3 separate regions of the Homo sapiens genome follow, and regions 1 and 2 are each linked to region 3. Evidence: promoter capture Hi-C in 16 types of primary human blood cells and fetal thymus (Javierre and others, 2016). All regions are on one chromosome and are shown on one strand. Each heading gives the region's core, a stretch centred on a gene start or on the middle of the fragment in contact. The rest is flanking DNA. Distances are from core to core; before and after follow the strand shown.

The links. The method cuts DNA at HindIII sites, captures the fragments that hold promoters and counts their contacts. A CHiCAGO score of 5 or more calls a contact.
Region 1: a contact is called between a fragment that was not itself captured here and the fragment with the promoter of ELL2 in region 3, in 8 of 17 cell types (M2 macrophages, M1 macrophages, M0 macrophages and 5 more). The highest score is 8.9, in M2 macrophages.
Region 2: a fragment that was not itself captured here is called in contact with the fragment with the promoter of ELL2 in region 3 in 3 of 17 cell types (naive CD8 T cells, total CD4 T cells and naive CD4 T cells); the score reaches 6.6 in naive CD8 T cells.

The regions. Positions count from the first base shown.
Region 1 is chr5:96,595,553-96,598,454 of GRCh38, forward strand. All of the region lies in intron 4 of LOC101929710 (a long non-coding RNA gene), which reads left to right. It also overlaps a transcript of CAST not described here. Among named protein-coding and RNA genes, the nearest start is that of CAST, 65 kb to the right of the region's middle. The HindIII fragment of the contact is 7,507 bases long and covers 1-2,902 here.
Region 2 is chr5:96,538,061-96,541,197 of GRCh38, forward strand. The region is part of intron 4 of LOC101929710 (a long non-coding RNA gene); the gene reads left to right. It also overlaps a transcript of CAST not described here. Among named protein-coding and RNA genes, the nearest start is that of PCSK1, 110 kb to the left of the region's middle. The HindIII fragment of the contact is 4,378 bases long and covers 1-3,137 here.
Region 3 is chr5:95,959,899-95,963,225 of GRCh38, forward strand. ELL2 (elongation factor for RNA polymerase II 2) reads right to left here and starts at 1,953. Exons shown (of 12, transcript NM_012081.6): 1 at 1,677-1,953. The coding sequence starts at 1,823. It overlaps LOC101929710 (a long non-coding RNA gene), which reads left to right and starts at 2,103. Exons shown (of 5, transcript NR_130776.1): 1 at 2,103-2,138. It also overlaps a transcript of CAST not described here. RefSeq lists silencers at 1,367-1,776, 1,847-2,086, 2,042-2,509 and an enhancer at 1,805-2,562. The HindIII fragment of the contact is 3,633 bases long and covers 1-3,199 here.

The DNA.
Region 1 (2,902 bases), core at 214-2,713, 640 kb after region 3:
GCCTGACTCATAACCAATGCCAAGGGTGGGATGGGGAGCAAAGAAGCAGAGACAGTGATGGGCTCAGGCAAGGCACTCAGTTGGATGACACAGAACCTGAAATGGATAGGGAGAATAAAGGAGAAGGCCACCTAGAGGCCAAAGAAAGTATTTCAGGGGAACGAGGAAGAAGAACATAGAGAAAATATGCAGAACTTAGATAAAAAACATATAGCTTGGTTAGAGAAAAAAGACAAATATATATGAAACAAAATAGAGTTAAAATTCAACATAACATATTAGACCCAAATAATGGAGTTCTTATTTAAGTACTATGAGAAGTCAAAGTGAGTTGGAGAAGGGAGAGAAGGCTTCCTGGAGGAGGTGGCGTGGCATAAGACCTGGATGTTCAAGGAAAAAATATTCAATCCACTCAGGAGGGATATACTGAGCCTGCAGAGAGCTGCAAATGGGGTGGTCTCTATAAGGGGTTTGTGCTTAGGAGTGTGAGGTGTAGGAATAGTATGGTAGGCTGAATCATGCCTCTTCCAAAGATGTCCATGTCCTAATCTCATCCCCCAGAACCTGTGAATATTGCCTAATATGGCAAAAGGAACTTTGCAGATGAGATCAAGGGATTGAGATGGGTAGATTGTCCTGGATTAGCCAGGTAGGCCCAATACAGTCACAGTTGTCCTTACAAGAGGGACACAAGAGGAGTCAGAGCCAGAGGAGAAGACTGACTCCTGAAGATGAAACCAGAGGCTGGAGCAATGTGTTTTGGAGAAGGAGGAAGTAACTACAAGCCAAGGAATACAGTCAGCCACTAAAAGCTGAAAAAAGCAAGGAGACAGATTCTCCCCTCAGAACCTCCAGAAGGAACGACCCCACCAACCTCTTGATATTTGCTCAATCAAACTGATTTTTTGCTTTTGCCTCCAAAATGGTAAGAGAATAAATTTGTGTTGTTTGAGCCACTAAGTGTGTTGTAAATTGTTTCAGCAAAAATAGGAAACTAAAACCAGCAATAGGAAACATGGACTAAGCTATAGAGCTCTTTGTGGTCACTACAGCCATGCTCATGAAAAACAAATGTAGCCAAGCATATGAGGGAACTTGCTGTGAGATGCTTTCTTCTGTGTTCATGATGGAACACAGCAGCCCACCTCGAGATAAGCCCTGGAGAGTGGAGGCTCCACTGAATTCAACCTACAGCACCATGTTGAGAATCCTCAGCTGCCAACAGGTTTTTTCTCACAGTCTGGAGGCTGGAAGTCTGAGACGAAGGTGCCAGCAGGGTTAGTTTCTAATGAGGGCTCTCTGACTTGTGTTTGGTGATTTTCTCACTGTGTGCTCACATGGCCTTTTCTCTGAGCATGTGAGGAGAGAGAGATCTCTGTTGTCTCTTCCTCTTTTTATATGGACACCGGTTCTATCAGATTAGGGTCCAACCTCTATGACCTCATTTAACCTTATTACCTCGTTAAAGGCTCTATCTCCTAATACAGTCATATTGGGCATTAGGGCTTTAACATGTGAATTTTGTGGGGGACACAGTTTAGTCCATAACAGGTGACAGTGATCAAGATGGCATCATCCTGTACTTTTAGGATCCACGACCTCATATATTTCATTGTTATGAAGAGCATATCAGAAAGCAAAATGAAAAATACTTGCAAAACATCTTTTAATTTTCATGCATTCTCAAGACTTTCCTAATGTCAGAATATGTCAAGGAATTTATCCATCTGCCCTAAAAAAGAAAAGGATACCAGGTGGGATACTGTGGCCTTTTCCCCCACTCACCTACGTGAAATACTAATTATAGAAAGTACAATGGAGAAAATATTTTGTGTAAAACCTTGCAGCTGGGACCCTGCTGTCTGGACGTAATTATACAAACTGGAATTGATTTCAGGCAGGACAAGAAGGCTACCATCCCAGCTACATGAAGTGCCTAGGGAGCTCCTCTAATTACCACTAACTAGAGATTTAGTCTTATATCTCTTTCAAATAACGTCAGCAGCAGCAGAGGCAACCTGCACCTTCCAACATCACACTCCTCCGTTAGTTTGCTCTGACTCACCCTCCTCTCATCCTACCCGTGATGAACTTTCCATTGAGTGATTTATTTTTCCATATACTGAGTAGCACTTAAGCAACTGCCTTCTTTTCACCTTCTTTCTTTCCTACCAAATAATTATCGTGTCTCCTCTATGCAAGGACATTCATATATGCTATTTATTCAGGCCTCATTATAACCCTGCTAAGTAAATATCATCCCTCTAGATGTGTAAAGTGGGGGTCAGGGTGGTTTTGTGGCTTGACAACAGCATTGAGTCACCCCAGTGAGGATCTGGAGGGGTGGAAGAAGAAAAGAAAGGGGGAGAGAAAAATGGAAAAAGAAGGGGGGAGGGGGAGAGGCCAGCAGTACTAGGGGGCTGGCAGTAGTGAAGTCTGCAAGGCTCTATCTCTACCTCCCCACAGGGTCAAGATGACTCTACACACTCCCGAAGGTCCTGTGCTCAGAGACTAATTCCATGAAAATTCATTGTAATCAGAGCTTGTACAACCTGCTTGATGAGAATTCGCTGGACTTGCTGCCCATACATAACAAAATGGTAGTGCTTCTCTATAAATAAGCTCTGGCTCCTCTGCCTAATGAGGGCTTACACTCAGCCTACAGGAAAACATGTTCTGTCTTTGCCATCAATTTCCTTTGGTGCCCAGTGCATGAAAATAACTTTTTTTTGCCTTTCATGGACTTCTCTCCAGCCAAATTAGAACAGGACCCCCAAGTCTGCCCAAAGGCCAGCTAGTTCCCTGGGTCAGCCTCAGATATGACCAGAGCCAAGAAGTCCTGTCATATCCCACCCATCCAAGCACTGGGGAAAACTGGCTCCCCTCTCAGCTGCCCTGTCTC
Region 2 (3,137 bases), core at 267-2,766, 580 kb after region 3:
CCAGTCAGAGCATGCAATCTACACACAAGGCAAAGACTGGTTAAACAGCCAGCAAAAGAAAAACTGTTTGTTAGACAAACCAGGTCACCTGGTGTCCTTCAAGCCTTCCCGCGAGTAGCTTCCTTTCAAACCTCCACATAGGTTATCAAGAGCAGTGTCAAGTTCTAGGGATGGGCTCTTTAAAGGGATACAATTACCAGTTAATTTGAAGCATCTAGGAAAGGAGGTGAGTGAATAGTAATTGATAGAGGTATGAAACTACGTAGCAATATGTGGATATGATCCTTATATCATACCTATCTGAAAGTAAAAGAATTTTGCTTTTCTCATATTTATCTGTTAGAAAAGATAAGGTTTGGAAAGCCTTTTGGAAATCAACTTGCTTTGGACATCACTGAAAAGCATGCAGATTAAAAACAACAAACACTAGGCTAGCAAAGTAAATGACCAATTACCTAAAAGCATTTGAAGATGTTATTAAACTTTGGAACATCTCTTGAATTTCTGAATTGATAATATAGTCAGAATTAATGTGCAGATTTGGAGATGTTCAAGTAGTTAAAAATGGTCCTGGACTAACCTCAATCTTGTTTTGCAACATCTGTTTTTTTAAATTAAAAAAAAAACAGAAAATGTAACATTGAAACACTGTCTCTTCACTCATACATAAGACCCCCCCACACACACACCGCTCCCTCAGAAATGAAATGAGCTTTGGGATACTGTCTCTGTATCACATCATAAGACATAGAAATATCAAGTTACTCTAATTTGCAGTTTGGGGTTTAAAAAAAATCTCAGGAAGTGAAGATCAAAAATCAATATCAAATGACTCAGAGAGGTATTCTGCTGCTATCAGGTCACCCAAAGAGGAAGCACTTCATATTTGGTCAATATGGTAGCAGCATATCACTCTGAATTGTATAGGAAATAGACCACAGAACTTTCATTATAAAGATCTTGCTAAATCAATGACTAACATTTGCAGTTAAAACAAATCCAGACTATTCTCTCTTATTTGTATTTTCTCATAAAAGTATGTATGAAGACAATCACAGCAAATGTCAAAATATCACCATTTTTTAAGATTCAGCAGAACTGACTCATAGTGTTCAAAGTTCAGGGATATAGTGAGTTGTTGAGAAAAACCGAAAAACTTAAGAGTCAAAGTCTTGAAACAACACACTTAGAGCCTATTCTAATGGGTAATGCAAACTTTATATCATGCCAATTGTTTGAAGTGGCAGCTTTTATTCTGTTATTAAGTGCATAAATATTTAGAATTGCATGTCTTCTTAGTTAATTGACATTTTATTATTTTGTGAAGTGACAGTTTTTATTCTAAATAATTTTGTTTTTTGTGAAATTTACTTTGATATTAATATAGCCATTCAAACTTCCTTTCAACTCATGTTTCTATGTCATCACTTTTCCATCCTTTTACTTTTAACCATCGCTTTTCATCCTTTTATTTTTGCTCTGTCTTGTAAAGTTCTATAGGTTTTGACAAACATGTCATGTCATGTATCCATCATAATAGTATCACACAGAACAGTTTCACTGCCCTAAAAATTCCCTGCGTTTCACCTCTTCATCCCTGTCTCCTGCCCTGAACCACTTATATTAAAAGTGAGTTTCCTTGTATCAATAATAAATAAATAAAAAGTGAATCTAAAAGAATCGATTTCTCATGGACAGCACATAGTTTGATCTTCCTTTTTAAACCTAATCCTGCAATTGCTGGCTTCAATTGGTGTATTTACACCGTTTACATTTAATGTGACTACTGAGATGGTTGGGTTTAAGTCTACCACCTTGTTTTCTATTTGGGCAATCTGTCCTTAGTTTATTTTTTTCTGCCTTATCATAAATTAATTATTTACATGATTTTATTTTTTCTTCTTTGGTGGCTTATTGGACATAGCTTTGTTTAATGGCTGTTTTAGTATTTATAGTATACCTCTTTATCTTACCATAGTATAGCTTCAAATATGTGTAGTATAAGAATCTTATAACAATATATTCCCATTTCTCCCCTCCTAGCCTTATGCTATTGTGGGCTATAAATCTGTTTATACATATTAGCTCCACAATGTGTTGTTTCTATTTTTTTCTTTTAAACAGTTAATTATATTTTTTAAATATTTAAATCATAAGGAAAAAAGTCAGCCCATGTAGTTACTGGTCGTATTGCTTTTCATTTATTTTTATAACCCCTATCTCCATCTGTTATCATTCTCCTTCTGCCTAAAGGACTCTTTAAAACATTTTTTTTCCTTATCGCACATTTCTGATGTTTATGGATCCTTTCAGATTTTGTATGTCTGAAACAGTATTTATTTTACCTTTATTTTTATTCTTGCAGTAACTTTTTATTAATGACTTTATTTTTAGAGCAGTTTTAGATTTATAGAAAAAATAAGCAAATAGTACAGAAAGCTCTCATATATCCCCACATATACAGTTTCTCTATTATTAACATCTTACTTTAGGATAGTACATTTCTTAAAATGAGCAAACCAATGTTGATACACTATTATTAATTAAAATTCATAGTTTATTTAGATTGCTTTAGTTTTTACTTAATGTTCTTCTTCTGTTTCCGGATCTCATCCTTGATACTACATAACTTGTGGTTCTCAGGTTTCCACAAGTTCCTCTAAGCTCCGGTAGTTTCTCAGACTTTTGTTGTTTCTGATGACCTTGACAGTTATGAGGAGTATTGGTCAGCTATGATGTAGGATGCTCCTCTATTGGAAACTGCCTGATATTTTTCTCATGCATAGTATAGAGGTATGGGTTTGGGGGAGAAAAATTACAGAAGTAAAGTGCCCTTTTCATTGTACATACTATCAACAAGATTGATCACTGATGATGTTGACCTTGATCTCCTGGCTGAAGTAGTTTTTGTCAGGTTTGTCCACTATGAGGTTACCCTTTTTCCCCCTTTCCCATGTGCTCTTTGGCAAGAAGTCGCAATGCACAGAACATCCTAAGGAGTGTAGAGTTACGTTTCCTTCCCTGTAGAGTGGAATATCTACATAACTTACTTGAAATTCTTTTGTATGAGAAACTTGTGTCCTCTCTCATTAATTAATTTATGAAATCGTTTATGTGTATCATTATGGTCTCATGAA
Region 3 (3,327 bases), core at 703-3,202:
TTACAAATACCCTATCATGTGAGTTCATTTTCTATCCAAAGCGTGCACAACTAATGCCTTCCTCTGTGTGCACACTTATGGGGTGGGGGGGCTCTCTGAATACACTCCCAGTAAACCAGGGTTCACACCTCTCCTGCCGCTCTGCCTCAGACTCTGCCTTCGCTCTATGTATTTAAAGTGCCTGGCACTAGTGGGAGCTCAACAGATGTCAATTCTTTTCCCCACTTTTAGCTGAATAACTATGTGAATCTGTGTCTCGGTGTCCTTCTGCCCCTCTGTCTGTTGTACGAGACCGGTTGGAGTGTGTTCCTCAGTACCGAACGGGCTATTTGTAAGATGCCCCGTGGGTTCTATCTCCCTTCCGACTCTCTCCTCTCCTGTAAAACGTTACAGGTTCCCCCATATGGCATATCCCTCCCTCACGCGATGTATCCACTCCGGTCTCCCACAGTACTGCATGTCCATAAACTGTTTCCCCATGCACCCTGGTTACCGCGTCCCTTCTCGGTGCTTCCCTGTCTCTCCCATTTTTTTTCCAACATGAAAGCGTCTGGATTTGTAGTCCAATTACAGTGTATGTGCGCCTATCTGAGCCTCTCTCTGTACTGGAGGGGTGTGTGTGTATATGTGTGTGTGTGTGTCCATGGGCTTCTCTCGAAAACGAGGGGTGAGAGGCCCGAGTCTCTGCCCGGGATGCATTGTATCCTCCCCACACCTTCTGGCTCTGGCTCGTTCCCCGTTTACACTTCCCAGAGTCAGCCCAAGACGCCGGGAGCTTTTTCGGGTACGTTGAGCGTCCGTGAACCTCTCTCTCCAGAACCCGATGTCTTGCTCCCGGGGAGCGCTAAGTGTGCGTGAGTCCTCAGGTCTCTCCCCAGGGCACTGTGTTGGTTTGTGTCCGTCCTGGACGCGGCGCGTCTCCAGTAACGCGATGCGCCGGTGTCCCGGAGTCCCTGGGAATGCAGGTGTGTCCCCTCCCCCCCCGTACGCGAAGCGCCAGTGTCCCCGCCGTTCCAGTGTGCGCCGCCCCCTTACACGGACTGCCTAAGTCCCTATCTCTATGAGTACACCGTGTGCCCCTCACCATGCGCCCGAGTCCCCATCCCTTCGAGCACACAGTGTGTCCCCTGATACGTGGAGCGCCTGTGTCCCCAAGTCCCTGGGAATACAAGGTCCCACCCCCACACGCGGAGCGCCTGTGTCCTGTCTCTGAGGATCCACCGTGCCTATGTAACTGGAAAACGCGGGCAGCTGGTGCCCGCGAGTCGTCCCTGGTTCCTTGCCCATACGCTGCTCGCTACCCTCCTTCCCCGCCGAGGGTAGCGTGGTCATCTCACTTCTCTTATCGGGGCCTCTCTCCCTCCTTGGGACCCAACAAGCCAGGAAATCCTCGGGGGCCGTCGGAAAGTCCCGCAGCGGCAGCGCAGCCGACCCAGGGCTGCGGCTGCCTCGGCCCCGCCGCCAGGGGCCGCCCGACTGCCCGCTTCCCCAACGCCCAGGCTAGCCCGGGACCGCGGCGTCAGCCACCCTGCCCGGCCCTGCCCTGCCTGGCCGCTGCGGGCGCTGACGGTAGCAGCTGCCAGCCACGGCTCCGCCGGCCCCGCACCCGGGCGCGGCCAGGCCGTGAGGGGTGCGCTCTGCCTCTCTGAGCCCAGCCTGCCGGCCGGCCCGCTCACCTTGTGGCTCTGGTAAGTCTCGAGCGCCCGGATCGCCGTCTCGGTGAGCTTCACATGCAGTACGGTGATGTTGTCCTGCCCCAGCCGTCCGCACGACAGCCCATAGCGCTGCTCCTCCCGCAGGCCCCCTGTCCCCCCCGCCGCCATCTTAAACTCCCCGGGGTGCCGCCGCCGCCGCCGCTCCGGCTCTAGCCTCCACTGCGGCCGCGGCTGCTTGGGCTTCTGCAGCCGCCGCCACTGCTAGGGCCATCCCGCTGCTGACGTACTGTCATATACTGCGCGGAGCCAGACCTCGGACTGCCACCGCCGCCACCCGCCCCACCCTCCGGCCCCGCGCCCCGCCCCGGGCTCGTCTCATTGGTCTTGTTCCCTTCAGAACCGCCCTCATCGGCCGCCCTCCACTCTCACGGGGGCGGGCCCAAAGTCACTAGAGTTTTGCTCCTGGGACGGGACGTCCGAGAGGTAAGAGGCTGACGTCTAGGTGACGCGCCAACTTAATCATGTCTGACGTCACGTCTGGTCGTCTTGGCTAGCCGGCCGAGATTGGCCAGGCTGGCTTGGGGACTCCCCTGCTAATTGGAAGTCCAGGTTGCCTGGTCTGGTTACCTGGAGTTGGAGCCCCGCCCCTGTGGGGGATAGTAGTGAAAAGTCAGAATTGGGGAATCTCGCCCTACGCGGGTGGTCCTTGGAGAGGAGGATCTCCACCTCCACTATGTAAGGGGATGGCCGTGACCAAATAAGGACTTTGTTCCCCGACGGCTGCGGAAGCTGTGGAACTTGGTGCGTGCGTGTGGGGGAGGACGCAGCAGGAGGACTCGCTAGAGAGCTGCTCCTCAAAACTCCTAGTACTGTAGTTGAGCAAACGGCATTGGGAGGAAACTGCTCACTCTAAACTTGAAGTTATCGGGTGCCACACGCAGAGCTTATAAAAACAAAAACAAAAACAAAAACCCTTGAAATTAGTGAGTCGACTCTTAGATGTAGGAGTTGTGTTAGATCTTGTGGAGCATCTTAAGGACAAAATCACGCGGGAGGTTAAATGCCTTTCGTATGGTGGGCATGGTATAATAGAGAATTGAGCTTCGAGGTCTTTCCTACGCCATGCCCTGTTGTGATTCTCTGGGATCACAACTGGTGGGGATGATATCTCCTTAAAAAGGACTCTAGAAGAAGAGTAAAACTGGCATTGATCTAAATTAAAAGAAACCTCGACAATTCTCATTCTCTAATTCAGTTTGAGTATTGTCCTTTTTATTTGATAGGGCTGTGTGAAAACCTAGCTAGGGTTTAAAGGTAAGAGGCTGTCGAGGTTAAGCGAAGGAGATGGGGGCGTGAGGGGCGTGCAAAGGCCTGGCATACTTTCCATTCCATCCACAGGATGCTTCCTGTGTAGGCGTGGCTAAAAGAGGGAGCCTAATCTGGAGTCCCTTTCAGATTGTGTGTGGATAGACTGACAGATGGGTTCCTGTCAGAGGATGGATTAATTGGTTGATCAGAAACACCAGATAAAACAAACCATTGAAAGCTTTCAAACTGTTGAAAGGCAGTTTAAAAAAGTTCTTTTAATAAAAAAACTGAGACGCTTGTTTTTACCCTCAGCTTATAAAACCATGTTCTGTTCTACTGGGATTCCCCGGGAAAGTTTATAGAT